Linked DNA regions of Homo sapiens: region 1 is linked to region 2. The links are contacts of gene promoters, found by promoter capture Hi-C in human tissues and cell types (Jung and others, 2019). All regions are on one chromosome and are shown on one strand. Each heading gives the region's core, a stretch centred on a gene start or on the middle of the fragment in contact. The rest is flanking DNA. Distances are from core to core; before and after follow the strand shown.

Evidence for each region. Contacts are between HindIII fragments. The study calls those that stand out against the background at their distance.
Region 1: a fragment that was not itself captured here is called in contact with the fragment with the promoter of CDK5RAP1 in region 2 in 1 of the 25 tissues and cell types used here (bladder).

What each region holds. Positions count from the first base shown.
Region 1 is chr20:33,560,810-33,563,745 of GRCh38, forward strand. The region is part of intron 1 of CBFA2T2 (CBFA2/RUNX1 partner transcriptional co-repressor 2); the gene reads left to right. Among named protein-coding and RNA genes, the nearest start is that of CBFA2T2, 72 kb to the left of the region's middle. RefSeq lists an enhancer at 1,354-1,648. The HindIII fragment of the contact is 6,939 bases long and covers 1-2,936 here.
Region 2 is chr20:33,399,989-33,403,073 of GRCh38, forward strand. CDK5RAP1 (CDK5RAP1 mitochondrial tRNA methylthiotransferase) reads right to left here and starts at 1,531. Exons shown (of 14, transcript NM_016408.4): 1 at 1,440-1,531. It overlaps LOC124904889 (a long non-coding RNA gene), which reads left to right and starts at 1,594. Exons shown (of 2, transcript XR_007067567.1): 1 at 1,594-1,687. RefSeq lists enhancers at 1,242-1,331, 1,472-1,671. The HindIII fragment of the contact is 17,720 bases long and covers 1-3,085 here.

The DNA.
Region 1 (2,936 bases), core at 368-2,867, 160 kb after region 2:
TGTGTCATGTAATGTGACCCAGGAAGAAGCCAAGACCCCCGCCTTCCCCTGGCCATCTTTTTTTGCTTTTGCTTTTGCTTTTTTTTTGAGACGGAGTCTCGCTCTGTCACCAGGCTGGAGTGCAGTGGCATGATCTCAGCTCACTGCAACCTCCACCTCCCGGGTTCAAGCAATTCTCCTGCCTCAGCCTCCCGAGTAGCTGGGATTACAGGTGCGTACCAACACGCCCAGCTAATTTTTGTGTTTTTAGTAGAGACAGGGTTTCACCATGTTGGCCAGGATGGTCTTGATCTCTTGAGCTTGTGATCCGCTTGCCTCGGCCTCCAAAAGTGCTGGGATTACTGGTGTGAGCCACAGTGCCTGGCCTTTCTTTTTCTTTTCTTTTTTAAAGATGGGGTCTCACTGTGTTGCCCAGGCTGATCTCAAACGCCTGAGCTCAAGCGACCTGACCACCTTGGCCTCCCAAAATTGCCCAGGCTGATCTCAAACGCCTGAGCTCAAGCGACCTGACCACCTTGGCCTCCCAAAGTGTTGGGATTACAGGTGTGAGTCACTGCACCTGGCTACCACCACCCACAATCTTTTAACTTTTTATTTTAAAATGTAGATTCACAGGAAGTTATAATGAAAAATGTACAGGGAGGTCCGTTGGACCCTTCACTCAATTTGCCCCAGTGGTACCATTTTGTGTAACTATAGTATGGTATCAGTTGTCAACCTTCGATTTTTATTTAGCAGAAATTGACTGAGCAGCTATTATATGCTAGCTCTTTGAGGTATAAAGGATTAAACTCTGACCTTATGGGTTTCTGTCATCTCTCTGGATTTTCATTGTTATTGTTCTTAAAATATTTTTTATTTTGGCGACTCATTGTTGACACTTATATTAGCAGTTATTTTAATGTTAAATATTATGTTATTTCTGACATTTATATTTGCTCTGTTTTAAAACAATTTTGCATTGTGTCCCCATCTTCCATTTATAATCTTTACAGCATCAGAACCATGTTGCCTGCATTGTCTTATTTTAATCACGTGCCAGTTTTGCAGTGCTACCAAGTCTGGATCTGAGAGGCAGCTTGTGTGAATCATTTACATACATTTCTGTTTATATTCCCCAAATTAATTTGCAACTTTATATTTTTCATCCAATTATATGTTCAAAACATATTTTTAATAATTGATTTTAAGAAGGAATTTGTTATATTAGGATTTAAAAACTGGCTCAAAAAACAGAAGCTATTAAACAATAGCAGAAACCAGACAGTATATAGGACTTTAAATGGTAATTGCTAAACATTTGAATGTTCCCAAAAATGTGAGTCTGTGTGTCTCTGTGTGTCTCTACGTGTTATTCCACTAGGGATTTGCACAGATAGGTTTTGCACAATATCCTTGCTGTTATTGTCAGCCATAAACAAATTACACGTATTTAACAAGTTAATGTCAGATTGGCCAGGAGCCACTGGGAGGTGTGTACTTAGTGACATCAGCTGGCAAAGAGCCCTGGTAACAGGGAGGGTTGGAAGGGTAGTGGAGAGAGAGGAAGCAGGAGGGAGGGAGAAAAAGAGAGAGACTGACTGTATCTGGGGATTCTGGCAAGGTGAAGAGCTGGTCTGTTTGGCAGGACCTTCCCATCTGGGATCCATCTGTGTTTCCCTGGAATGGGACAGGCAGCTCTAGTCAGTGAGAAATCGCAGATGTGAGAGAGCTGACACATGTCCAGCTAATGAAAGGAGGAGGAAGGCTGGTCTCCGATTGAGCTTTGAAGATTAGGAGGAGAAAAAGAGGAGCTTTGGAATATCTATTTCAAATAAATTTGGTGTATTTAAGAATCTGGATTGTTTATAATTTGGGCATTTGGGGTAAGTACATTTTAATATAGTTTTGGGGGTTAAAGTGCACAATTCTCTGCCTTTCAAAGCTTTTTACTTCTTTCAAATTACGATGATATGAATGTTTCTTGGTATTTGATACAAGAGTTCAGCCTTTCTACTCAGTTTTATTTTAATGCTTCATTTTATTTATGTTTCTATTTTTCTGTTGCCAACCTTATATTTGAATGTCATGCTTTTTTGAATGCAAGGTTTACTTAATAATTAGATGTAGTATATGAATTCTACAGCTAGAAAAGTAGTCCCACAAATATTTCTGTAAGGTTTTCCACGTTGGATTGTTCTGTGATGTTTAGAGGGAATTTTTTTCCCCTTTAGTATGCATAATACAAATAGGCCATATTAAAAAGATGGCTCATAAAACGCTCTTTTCTATTGTCAGATTTTATTTCAGTATATGCAGGCAAATTATAACTAAAAGAGGTTGAAGCAAAACTAACAGCATCTCTTCGTTTTAGATATATCTAACAGTTTTTCATTTACATTTTGCTCCTATGCTGTTTTCTTCTGTTTTCTTGCTACATATAAAATAAATAACATCAATGAATCTGACTTGAATTGTGAGTTTGGGGTAGTTTTGTGATGCAATAAATTCATGTGCATATAACTACGTACTGTGTTCTGTAGTCCTGGTTAGTTTGTGATGCCTATTTTAGATTTTTGCTATTTCTTATATATAAGAAATAGAGATGGGTCTCACTGTGTTGCCCAGACTAGTCTCTTAAACTTCTAGGCTCAAGTGATCCTTCTGCCTCAGCTTCCCAAAGTGTTGGGATTGCAGGCATGAGCCACTGCACCTGGCCACTTTTTACTGTTTCCATACATTGTATTCATGTTTTTGAGGCCTTCGAATCTAGGCTTCCTTTCCATGTTCTATGGAAAGAACATGAGTTTGGGAGTTACACAAACTGTGTACCCATTATTTACTAGTTCTGTAATCTCAAGCAAGCCACTGTTCTCTTTGAATCTCTATTTTGTGTAATTCCTGACTGATGTTGTTATTGGGGAAATTTGTCTGGCACATAGAAAGCATACAAGTTG
Region 2 (3,085 bases), core at 281-2,780:
AGCTGAGATTGCGCCACCACACTCCAGCCTGGGCAACAGAGAGAGAGAGAACTTGTCTCAAAAAAAAGGAAATGGAATGCACAAACTAGATGCCTTGCATATACGCAGTTCACAATAGGGTTTGTGTTCCTGAGAAACTAATTCCGTGGCCAATCTGACGGGAGGCAGAGCTCAGGCAGTAATGCCAGCTTTGCTGCTCACCTCCTGCTGTGCAACCCGGTTCCTCACAGGCCACAGACAGGTACCATTCTACCACCTAGGGTTAGGGGAACCCTGCTATACACGTGTAAAGAGCAGATGTGGCCCATTACCTTTCCAATGAGATGACCTGCCACATCTGCTACTAGCACTTAGGAGCAATGCCAACCCAGTTTCAAGAGTCAGAGAAGAACAGCCTTAAAGTGTGAACTTTAAAATCGCCCCTTTCTACTCCATAATTGCTGTGTGACCTTTGGCAAGACAAATTTCTGTCTCTGAGCCGCCAATTCCACATGTGTAAAATAAGGATAAAAGCAGCACCTACCACCCCATAAGTGTTATTAAGAATAAGATATTAAAAACCCAACTTGAGATACAGTAAGCGTTCACTAACTGCACATTTACAGCCCACACCCCCTTTCACAGAGAGTATTAGAGCATCCTGGTTAAGAGTATGAACTCCACTAAAAATACAAAACTTAGCCGGGTGTGGTGGTATGCGCCTGTAATCCTAGCTACCCAGGAGGCTGAGGCAGGAGAATCGCTGGAACTCGCGGGGCAGGGGCTACAGTGAGCCGAGATCGCGTCACTGCACTCCAGCCTGGGCGACAGAGCAAGACTCCCGTCTCAAGAAAAAAAAAGTATGGACCCTGGAGTCAGAATCTGACCCCACTGCTGCCAAGCCAGCTAAACCTTAGGCACCTGTCTTAAACTCTGGGAGCCTCTAGATGGGGATAATAGCACCTATCTCCATAAGCCTACCGTAGGATCAAATGCAATAATACAAGCAAAATGCTTTGCATAACGCAATGTAGAAGCCTCTCTGGAGGCTCGAAATTAATTCTGACAGTCGGCAATGAGGCTGGAACAACAGCGTACAACATCCCAAACATTTTATTGGCTGGTTACAATGCGTTAGGCATGGTGCAAAGCATTTTCCGCGAATTATTACCTATAACCCTCATAGCAACCCTGTGAGGCAGGCTGTACTGTCAACCCCACTTCACGGGTGGCGAAGCGAAGCCTTGAAAGAAGTGGAGGTGACCTGTCCAAGGTCACACGGGGTTAGGCGGCGGGGTTAGGGTACGAACCCCTACAGCCTGACGCCAGGCCCCACGCCATAACCACCGTGCCATCCTCCCTCTTGAACACCGTGCGCTTCCCGGGATCCGCGGCCCCTCCTGCCCCAGGCGCCAGTCAAAAGCGGGTGCGCAGCCCACCCCGGCGGCCGCGCTGCTCACCTCCCGCAGCAGCAACAGTGCCCGGGGTCCCGCAGCGTAAGTTCTGCCGGCAAGTCGGATCCCCTCACAGGTCCGCCGCTGCGTTCATACACAAGCGACTTCCGTTCCGCCGCTACTTCAGGCCGGGTCATGCTAACGGAAGTGCTTCCTTTTTACAGTCCGGGTGGACCCAAAGCTCCGTGGCGGTGCTGAACTTTAGGGCAGCCACTAGCCACGGACTTAAGCGGCAATTGAGCTCCTCAAAGTGGGTGAGTGCAAATCAAATGTGCGCTAAATGTCAGATACACTGGATGTGGAAGAAGAAATGTCAAATAGTGTCAAATAGTTCATATATATAATGTTTATATTGATTATGTGCTGCAATAATTGTTGGGATATATTGGATTAAATAAGTACATTTGTTGAATTAGTTTTTTTTATTTGTAGCTATGGTGGTAGAAATATTTGAATTAAGTTCACCTGTTGTTTCTTTTTACTTTTTCAATGTGGCTAGCAGGGGGAAAAATAATATGGTGTGATCATGGCTCACTGCAGCTTCCGCCTCCCATGCTAAAGCAATCCTCCCACCTCACACTCCCAAGTGGCTGGGACTACAGGCAGGCGCCACCACGCCCAGCTAAAATTTTTTTAATTTTTTTGTAGAGACCGGTCTCCCCATGTTGCCCAGGCTGGTCTCAAACTCCTACCTAGGCGCAAGCCATCCTCCCACCTTGGCCTCCCAAAGTGCTGGGATTGTAGGCATGAGCCACCGTGTCCGGTCCTTACTGGGAAATTTTAAGTCACCTAAGAGGTTCACGCTCTATTTCTATTGGAGGGTGCTGCCCTGTAGGTTAATGACTTCCTGATTCACATCTCCAGCTGGACCCTCCCTGCAGTACCAGAGCCATAGCTCAGCTGCCTACTTGACACCCCTTCTTGAGTGTCTGATGACCATCTCTAACTTATACAGAACTCTTCATTTCCACACATGCACCTTCACCAAAAACCTGTACCTGTCATTCTGGCCCATCTCAGTAAATGGCCCAACCATCCTTCCAGGTGCACTAGGAGGAACTGAATGGTCATTTTCTTCACCTCCCTGGATCCCCACATTCTATCTGTCAGTAAGCCCTGTCAACTCTAACTCCAAAATGTCAAATCTGTCTACTCGGTAGCTACAACTACCCAGGCCACCATTGTCTCATCAGAAACAATCACAGTAGCCTGCTAATGGTCACCTTGTCTCCTGAGAACAGTTTCCCACACATAGCCTAAGGGAATTTGTGTTTGTTTTATTAAATCAAATTATATCACCCCTCTCCTGAAAACTCTCCGTGGCAGGCCGGGCGTGGTGGCTCACATCTGTAATCCCAGCACTTTGGGAGGCCAAGATGGGCAGATTGCTTGAGCCCAGGAGTTCTAGACTAGCCTGAGCAACATGATAAAACCCCATCTCTACAAAAAACACAAAAATTACCCCGGCATGGTGGTGGGTACCTGTGGTCCCAGCTACTCAGAAGGCTGAGGCAGGGAGGATTGCTTGAGCCAGGGAAGTTGAGGCGGCAGTGAACCATGACCTCAACACTGCACTCCAGCCTGGGTACCAGAATGAGACCATGTCTTGAAAAAGAAAAAAACAAAAACAGCCGGGCACGGTGGCTTATGCC